Regions from separate parts of the Homo sapiens genome. Here region 2 is linked to region 1. The links are contacts of gene promoters, found by promoter capture Hi-C in blood cells and fetal thymus (Javierre and others, 2016). All regions are on one chromosome and are shown on one strand. Each heading gives the region's core, a stretch centred on a gene start or on the middle of the fragment in contact. The rest is flanking DNA. Distances are from core to core; before and after follow the strand shown.

Evidence for each region. Contacts are between HindIII fragments. The CHiCAGO score rates a contact against its expected background, and 5 or more counts as called.
Region 2: a fragment that was not itself captured here is called in contact with the fragment with the promoter of SYT10 in region 1 in 1 of 17 cell types (endothelial precursors); the score reaches 6.4 in endothelial precursors.

Annotation. Positions count from the first base shown.
Region 1 is chr12:33,436,688-33,441,420 of GRCh38, reverse strand. It overlaps SYT10 (synaptotagmin 10), which reads left to right and starts at 1,602. Exons shown (of 7, transcript NM_198992.4): 1 at 1,602-2,049. The coding sequence starts at 1,899. RefSeq lists an enhancer at 1,875-2,691. The HindIII fragment of the contact is 7,804 bases long and covers 1-3,674 here.
Region 2 is chr12:32,972,103-32,976,832 of GRCh38, reverse strand. No RefSeq gene overlaps it. Among named protein-coding and RNA genes, the nearest start is that of PKP2, 78 kb to the right of the region's middle. The HindIII fragment of the contact is 765 bases long and covers 2,930-3,694 here.

The DNA of each region.
Region 1 (4,733 bases), core at 353-2,852:
TTGCATTGCAGGCTGTTTTCTACCGGTCTGTCTGTGTAGACTGTAGCAGAATGGGGGGCAAAAGGCAATTGGAAAGGGCCTTATTAAAGTGTGTTATTTAGTTTTGTGCATACAGTAGATGTTTAATATTTTTTGATTGACAGTGAAATTATTTCTTTAGACAATTTGACTTAAAAACCACCCAAGTCAGTGTGCATAAAGACAAAAACCAAATGAAGCCTGCAGATTTTAGTTTGTCTTAATTCGTGGTAAAAATAGTCCTAGTTAAACCAATCGTCCTATGGATCAGGTCAAAATGATTCAACTAATGAATGCTTCCCTACTGGAGTGCTATGCCTAATATTTATACTAGGTTTACCATAGTCCTGTGCAAAGCAAATAATTTACCATGAACTGATTAGCTGTTTTTAAAAAAGACTACTTATTCTACTAGCATAGACACGCTAACAAGTTCAATGTATCCCACTTCAAAAATAAAGAATCCCTCATCACAAGAGGGTTAAATCAATCCTCAGGTTATGATATGGGATCAAACTCTGCCCGAAAACAGTTTAAAAACCATATAAACATATTATATCCTGAAGCCCATGTTTATTATTTTGTCGCTTTAGTTCTACTGATTTGCACCCATTTGCATTAAAGAATTATAAAAACAGGTGAGCTTAAGACATCCGAGTCCAAATCTCCCATTTTACAGACTCAGGCAAAGACCCGAAAGCAGGCCGGCCGTGGTGGCTAGTGCCAGCATTTTGGGAAGCTAAGGCGGTAGGATTGATTGAGCCCAGGAGTTCGAGACCAGCCAGGGCACCATAGTGAGATCCTTGTCTTTACAATAAGTTTAAAAAAAAAAAATAGCGCCTGGAGTCCCTGGAGTCCTAGCTACTAGGGAGGCTGAAGTAGGAGGATCGCCAAGACCTGAAAACAACTTCAAGGTTAGGCTGAGATGTGTGACAGATTTGAACTTAATCCTGTTCCCTTTAACACCCATGTCTTGTTTTAAGTCGCTAAGAAAGGAGATGGAGGGAGTCAAGTTGTGCATTCTCAATCGCCAATTACGGATTAATCGACAGAATCTTATCTGATTATTAGTACAAATAACATTTTATTTTGTGATCTACCTAAGAGGGTTTGCTTATTCACGCATTCTTTTTTCTAATTAACTTTTTCAGTTTTTCTTCGATTGGGATGACTTTTCCAGAAGGGCAGAAGCAGATAGCACAGAAAGTAGAATACATCCGTGGAAAAGTTGGAGAGACAAAGGCGGCGGGGATGGCTGCACTGATGCAGGGAAAAGTATTGGGAAAACGGAGAGGGCTCCTCGGGCCAACTCTGGGCAACGATGAGCATCCCCGGCCTCGGCAGGGGCGCCGGGCCGCCCGCCCTCCCTCCCTCCCTCCCTCGCGAGTCCCTTCTTCAGAGGACGCGGGGAGCCGGGTCTGCGCGCTCCGCCGCCTGTCACCTAGCGCCCGCGCCGGGCTGCGATTGGACGCGTCGCCGCCAGGCACCCGCCAGAAACACCAGTGCGCTGGGGAGAGGAGGGGGGCGTGCTTGCGAGTCGAGGGCTTGCTTTGGCTTTTTTACGGCTCCCCCCTCCCCTCAGCACTCCATGCCGGGTCTCTAGTTCCAGCGCGCCTCGGCTCGCTCGCGCGGCGGGAGAGTTGGCGCAAACCTCGCGGCAGCCGCAGCCTCCTCGCGCGCCTCTCCTTCCCCTACGCCCTCCGCTCCCGCCATGGGGCCAACGTGGGGCTCCTAAGAGTTGCCGGCTCTCAGCGGCGCAATCTCCAGCCAAAGTCACCGCGGGCGGACTATGGCTTAGGGCGCCAGAGGGGTTAGAGGTACGGGAAGAGGAAAAGACGGCTAACTGGGAAAAAAAGAGAAAACGAAAGAAAAGCCAAACGATGAGTTTCCACAAGGAGGACGGAGTGAACAGTCTGTGCCAGAAGGCTCTGCACATCGTCACCGAGCTGTGCTTCGCCGGCCAGGTGGAGTGGGAGAAGTGCTCGGGCATCTTCCCTCGGGACAGGGGCAGCCAGGGCGGAAGCAGCACAGGTAACCGGGAGGGCTCCGCTCGCGTCCTCGCGCTCCGCTGGGACCCCGCGCGCTAGGCTGCAAGCTCCGGGGTTCTGCGCCTCCCGCGCCGCTCCCGCGGCATATTTGGGGCGCCACGCTTTCCTACCTCGCTCCTTCCTTCGCTCAGCTCCTGACGACTTCGAGGGTGGGGCGTTTGGGTTTTGTTTCCTCCTGTCCACCTGCCGGGCTTCTCCCATTCTCTGGTCCGCTTCCCGCCTCCCGGCGCCGTCTCCCGCTCCCAGCCTCGCCGCGCCTCTCCGCGTTCTCCCACGCCTCCCATCTCCCTCCCGGAGTGGAGAAGTGAGTGCGGGCGGTGACGGCGCCGGGACGGCTCGCGGCTTGGCTGCTTGTGGGGGCGGCTCACCTGTGGGACTAGGGCTGCTCTCGCTCGTTCCACCGGCCGCTGGTCCCGGCCTTGTTGATGGGGGCCAGGCGGGACGGACAAGCCATGCTTGGACGCAGAACTCCCTTGCAGAGGTGGCTGCCTTGGCCTCCGAGGTAACCCGCGGCTGCAACCTGTCGGGCACCTGACAATTTCTAAAGCCCTTTTAATATATATGATTTTCTAGGGTTTCATGACAAAGTTGGTAAAACAAGGATTATTGATCCCATTTGTGAGGCGACACCTAAAGCTCAGAGCACATATCGAAGAAGTGGAAGAGAGGGGAGACGTTTAAAATCCCTAGCACACGCACGCTCTCAGACATCCAACTCACAGACGTCCTCCCTACCCTTCAGGAAACTAGGAAATGGGCTGGATGCAGGAGGATATCGACCGTCGGAAATCTGGAGATGGAAAAAAGTCTCAAGTGGATTTTCCTCAAGGCTTGGGGGTGGAAAGGATCGAATCCAAGCCACTGTTTGGGTCACGGTTGGGGAAAAGGTTGGTGTGTCCAGCCTGCTGTGCTCCTCGGGCGCACGCGAGGTGGATCCCCGAGTTGCGGGCTGCGTGGTTTCAAGAGCCGCTTGAGAGGGTCACTTGTTGCACTAGGAGTCAAAAAACACTGCTTTGGGGATTTTCGACTGGAAGGTTGCCATTCCTTCTCTAGGTTCTTTCCCTTTGCTTTTCCTGTCATTTTGATCTCCTGGCGGGATTTTAAGAGTTGAAGGTAGTCAGGGCAACAAGAGCTGGACAGCCAAGCTCAGGACAACATGGAGCCCTGCGTGCTGGGAGGGAGCAAAGCGGGGCACACTTAGTGAATCCTCTCCACCACCACCCCTGCGTCAAAGCCAAGCGGGGAGTGGGAATGGGTTTAGTTTAGCTTTTACATTCCATCGTTCACATGGGTAGCTGCAGGGTTTGGTATTCTCTGATCCACGGCAACGTGAGCCAAGGGGGCTCTGTCTGCACTTGGCAGAGCTTGAAGATATGCCGCTGCTTGGACCCTGGATAGGGAAACTTTAAAATTTTCTCAGTGTATAAACACAACTGAGAATCATTTCCATTCGTTCAGTAGGTGTTAAATTCCTAGGAGTGTATGAAACTCAGTGGAAGGCACTGTGTGAGCATGTTGTATTCTGTGTCGTGCGTATCGTTGCTAAGTATGAGGTAAAGACCAGAATAGTGTGACCTCAGAGTCCTCTGTGGTGATATTAGATAAGCTTTTCTGAAACGTCTTTAGTGACCCACTTGCTAAAGGTAACACTCAGAGAAGGGGCTACACTGGACGAAATGAGAGTATTTAAGTTTGAAGATTGTGCTTTGGTAATTGAACAGTTGATGCTGTAAATAAAACTACTGATTTTCCTCTTTCCTGCCCTTTTGTGATCACACACCAAATAGTGGTTTCCCGGGTCTCAGACTGGCTGGTAATGAGGAAAATATGTGGAAGTTAGAAACCAAATCCCAGCTCTGAAATCTGTCCAAAATGCACAACTGTATCAGCTTCAGATAAACTATAGTATATGAATTATAGAAATAGTTCTCAGTTTTTCCTAATCACTGCAAGAAGTAGTTGTAGTCTGAATTCCTTTTGAACTTTTCCCCTTGGGAATAAAAAGTGAGAAAAATTAGTCTAAAACAATTGCAAGAATATTTTCCTCCCCTTAAGAGGCAAAATAGACTACATAATATATACAAGTGGGGTATTCGATTTATAATATAGGAACACACATATTTATTGGCTATTACTAGGAAAGATATTCTACTAAGTTGTGTATGACATATAAAGACAAGATTGCTATACGTTTTTCATTTGCGAATCCAAGCAACAGTTAGAAGTAAAATACTTTAATCTGCAAATAGACACTCAAAGTTAATAGATATCTATGAAGTGGATTTAAAGATTGTTTGCCAAATATTTAATTATATTTCTTAGCCACCCAGCGTCACACTGTTCTTTAAAGTAGATTTTCTTATAACTTGTGCTCTCATGCTTGTTATTATAGGTTCCTAAATAAAGCACTTCCAGTGATCCTTCTACTCATCGTTTAATGAGAAGGCCATTTTTGGTAGGAAGACATCAACAATGTTGAATGGCACAGTGCTTATTTACTTTGAAAGTTAATCAGCACTGCCCAGATGGTATTGGTTGTTCTAACATTACAGTGATAATTACAAGCTCCAAAATTGTGTATATTTTTAATTCCTTCACATAGAGATAGTGGGAGAGAAATTCAGGTAATTCCAGTTAAAATCATTCTACATGAAGGGAGCTACAAAT
Region 2 (4,730 bases), core at 2,063-4,562, 470 kb after region 1:
GAGACCAAAAAATGTGTACTCACAGGATTCAATAAAATTAATAATTTTAGTAAGATTAGTAAAATTAGCGATTTAGTAAAATAAATAATTTGTACTGCTCCATCAAAGCCATTCTTAAGTGAAACTCATTTTCTTTACTGTAAGTGTGTGGCAATGAAGAATAAAATTGGGCTGGGTGCGGTGGCTCATGCCTGTAATCCCAGCACTTTGGGAGGCTGAGGCGGGCAGATCACTTGAGGTCAGGAGTTGGAGACCAGCCTGGCCAACATGGTGACACTCCACCTCTACTAAAAATACAAAAATTAGTTGGGCATGATAGTGCACATCTGTAATCCCAGCTACTGGAGAAGCTGAGGCATGAGAATTGCTTGAACCCAAGAGGGGGTTGCAGTGAGCCAAGAGGGCACCACTGCACTCCAGCCTGGGCGACAGAGTGAGTGAGACTCCGTCTCAAAAAAAATCAAATCAAATCAAATAGCTGCTCACATACAGTTTGGTAGCATTCTCTTAATTTGCGCTCAGGATCAGCATTTTTATGCACCATTGCTTTGCATCATTAGTACAAATGTCAACAGAGTGAAAAAGACATTTTTTTTCATATTATTGTAAAAATAGGTTTGGTACTCCCTGTAAGTGTTTTGGGCACCATGAGATCTGCAGACCACACTTTGAAACTGCCGGTGTCTGTGAATATGATGAAGTCCTAAACTAGGCAGTGCAGTAGAATTGGAAAAGCAGGGCTGTATAGAAAAGAAATTTTTTGGGAGAATGCACATAGGATTTGGTAATGAAGTACATGAGAAAAGTACAAAAGAAGGGGGATCAATCTTGCTGAAGATGTCTGACTACCTGTTATCAACATAAGGAATAAAAGAAAGCTGCAAGATAGATTAGCAACGAGTCTGTTTATATGAGGTTTTGGAGACACCTCCAAAAAAATTGTTCATAAGACAAAAGAGACTCAAGGCACAATATTTTGCTTAGAGACAATGATTCTGAGTGTTGATGAGTTGATCACTCAAATTATCATCCAGGCCAGCTTTCCATGGACCTATGACTGACTACTAGATTGAGGTAATTGTAATTACAAATCTAGAAATGCTCAAAAGACACTTTTCACTAAATTTCCATCTAGACATCAGTAATAAAAGGTTCTAGCTACATTGGATGCTGGGACTGCAACAGCAACAAGAGATAACGCCTTCTGTACAAACATAGGATTCTTGACATCGGATAGCAAACTTGGTGGAGACATTGGTGGCTCTCAACAGAAGAGGTGGCATCTTAACAAGGATATTTGATATTATTCATTAATCCTGGAGCAAACATCAGCAGTCTCAATTCTGAACATTGTATTCCTTGGAATAAGCTTCATGGATCATCAGTAATATCACCAGCGGAGCAATCAGCAAGCATCAGCAAAGAGCTGCTTACTGGGTTCACAAGAGGATCTCCATCTGAGCCAGAGTAGGAAAATGGAACTGGTGGTAATCAAAGGGCTAATTCATGGAGAACCTGAGCAACAACTTCTAGAGGAAACGCCCAAGATTCTTTGTGAAACATTTAAAGCAGGATTAGTGTTCCCATAGAGATGTAAGAAAAGCCGGAAAAATACTGCTTTGAGGAGTTGTTTTTACTCCCTGGGTAATAAATGATGGATTATTAGATATAAACAAAACCCTAATATATGAAAATTAATTTTCTAATTATTCTTATCTCCCACAGACATTGGCTTGATCCAAAACTCTATTTTAACAATGACCTATTTTCTACAAGAAAATTTGGCTTAATTATGAATCAAAAAGCACAAAGATTCCCTTTTTCATAAAAAATCAGGCCAGGCACAGTGGCTCACACCTATAAATCCCAGCACTTTGGGAGGCTGAGGCGGGCAGATCACCTGAGGTCAGGAGTTCGAGACCAGCCTGGCCAACATGGAGAAACCCCATCTCTACTAAAAATACAAGCCATGGTGGTGTGTGCCTGTAATCCCAGCTACTCGGGAGGCTGAGGCAGGAGAATTGCTTGAACCAGGGAGGCGGAGGTTGTGGTGAGCCGAGACCGTGCCATTGCACTCCAGCCTGGGCAACAAGAACGAAACTCCATCTCAAAAAAAAAAAAAAAAATCATTTGCTGTGTTTTTATTTTATCCTCAAAGACTCCATCTGTGTCTGATCATTAGTGGTAACCAAATATTACTACATGGCCTTCTTTTAAATATCTATTTTTCACTCAATATAATATTAATCCTTGGAGGATTTAAGTTGCTTTGTCATGCTTTAGGATGGCTAATCTATCCAAAGCATCCTGTTTTAGAAAAAATGTATTACGTGTCTGCTGAAAAGTTCAGTAACCTGACCACAGCTAAAATACAATATTTTACATTGTACATAGGTTTCTTTTTTTGAGACGGAGTCTCACTCTGTCACGCAGGCTGGAGCGCAGTGGCACAATCTTGGCTCACTGCAATCTCCGCCTCCTGGGTTCAAGCATTTCTTCTGCTTCAGCCTTCCCAATAGATGGGATTACAGGCACCCGCCACCTTGCTCAGCTAATTTTTTAATTTTTAGTAGAGACAAGGTTTCACTATGTTGGCCAAGCTGGTCTTGAACTCCTGACCTCAAGTGATCTGCCTGCCTTGGCCTCCCAAGGTGCTAGGATTACAGGCGTGAGCCACCTCATCCGATCCTGTACATAGATTTCTAATGAAGATTTTTTTAAATACACGATTTACTATAAATTATAAAAGCCAAGAAGATAAATTAAAGAACTGTGAACATACAGTATGTGCTGAGTACTTATGAACTTTTGGTTATCCTCTATTATTTAACAAAGCGGGTCATGAATAGAAATCTCCAGCCACTCTCACCCTCCCAACAAATATCCAGCCACTCTGCCTTTTTTTGTCATGCCTCAGACATGCCAAGCTTGTTCTTCTCTGAAATATTTTACTCTTGAGATTTCTCCTTTTATTAGTTACGTATTTCTGCATAACAACATATCCCAAAACTTCATTATTTAAAAAATAAACTTTTATTATCCCCAAGTTCCCTTTGGTCAGAATTTCGGGAGGGGATTAGCTGGGTGCTCTGGCTTAGGATCTTTGATGAGGTTGCAGAAAGATGCACCCAGGGCAGCCATCATCTGAAGGCTTGACTGGGGAGCCTCCAAGATGCCTCACTCACACAGGTGGCAAGTTGGTACTGGCTGTTGGCAGGAGGCCTCAGTTCCATCACCTCCATAGAATTGCTTGAGTGTCCTCATGATTTGGCAGCTCGCTTCCCCCAGACAATGTCCCAGGAGATCAAAGGGGAAATGGCAATGTTCTTTATGTCCTAACCTCAGAATGTGGACACCACAACTTCCACTGTATTCTGCCAGTCACACAAACTAATCCTGATGCAGTGTGGAAGGGAATTCCATAGGGATGTAAATACCAGGAGGCAAGGACCACTGGTGTCATCTCAGAATGTGGCCACCACATCCCTCTCTCAGATCTTTTTACTTTTCCTTAGCTCATCTAATTCAGGTCTTTGCTGAAATGGGACCTCGTCTAAAGATCTTTCTACTTCTCTAAATTAGATTACCTTTGACCTATCACTTTCCTACATTATTTTTACAACACTTATCAATGCCTGGAATTCCATTATTTATTCACTTATGTGTTAACTTTTTATCATCTATCCCCCAAGCTTCATGATGAGAGTAACTTTGTCCACTTTGTTCACAATTCAGGCCATCACCAAGCACAGTGTCTAGCACAAAGTGGGTACCTCACAAATACCTTTTGAATAAATGAATGGTTTTTGAAGCAGGGGTAATGAGTTTACACTCAGCTCTTTATGGTCTTTCACAGTTTTGCAATTCTACATAGAGATAAACATTAGCAATAGCCTGAAGGATGATAAATCATAAGATCAGCGCTCCATTAAAAATAGTACTTATAAGTGAGTTATAGTGTTCATAAGTAATTAAGGTTTTCATTATTCAATATGAATGGTTTTTGCCTTTCTAAGGGAAATTTTCAGGATTTATTAAATACTTTAATTACTTTATGTAATATGAGAAAAGTAAATTATTTTAAATATTTAGGTATAATAAGAAACAGGGCTGGGTGCAGCAGCTCATGCCTGTAATCCCAGCACTTTGGGATGCCAAGGCAGGAGGATCACTTGAGCCCAGAGGTTTAAGACCAGCCTGGGCAACATGGTAAGATCCTGTCACTACAACTACAACAAAAACAAAAAAAGGTGGCACACGCCTAAGGTACTAGCTACTCCCAAGGCTGAAGTGGGAGGACTACTTGAGCTTAGGAACTTGAGGATGCAGAGAGCTGTCATTTGCACTATTGGACTCCAACCTGGACAACAGAGCAAGACCTTGTCTCAAAAAAAAAAAAAAATACAGTAAGCTATCAGAGGAGATAGCTTGGAAATAAATGTAGATGAAAGGAGATGTTAATTTTGGAAAGGGCTTAATCCCATGAAATACCATTACTTAAGTATGTAATACTTCAGCTTCTTGGAGCTTTTTATTATCTCAGTACCTGATGTACATATATATCATCTATCATTTTGTCACTGAACTAAATAAAGAAGTATGCTTATTTTAAATAGATAAATGATACTTTACTGACCGTGCTTTCTTACTTATATTTCTCTAGAAGGTAAAATTACAACTTGCCCTTTCCTTGCTAAGAAGAATATAATCAAAGTTAAAAACCTAATACT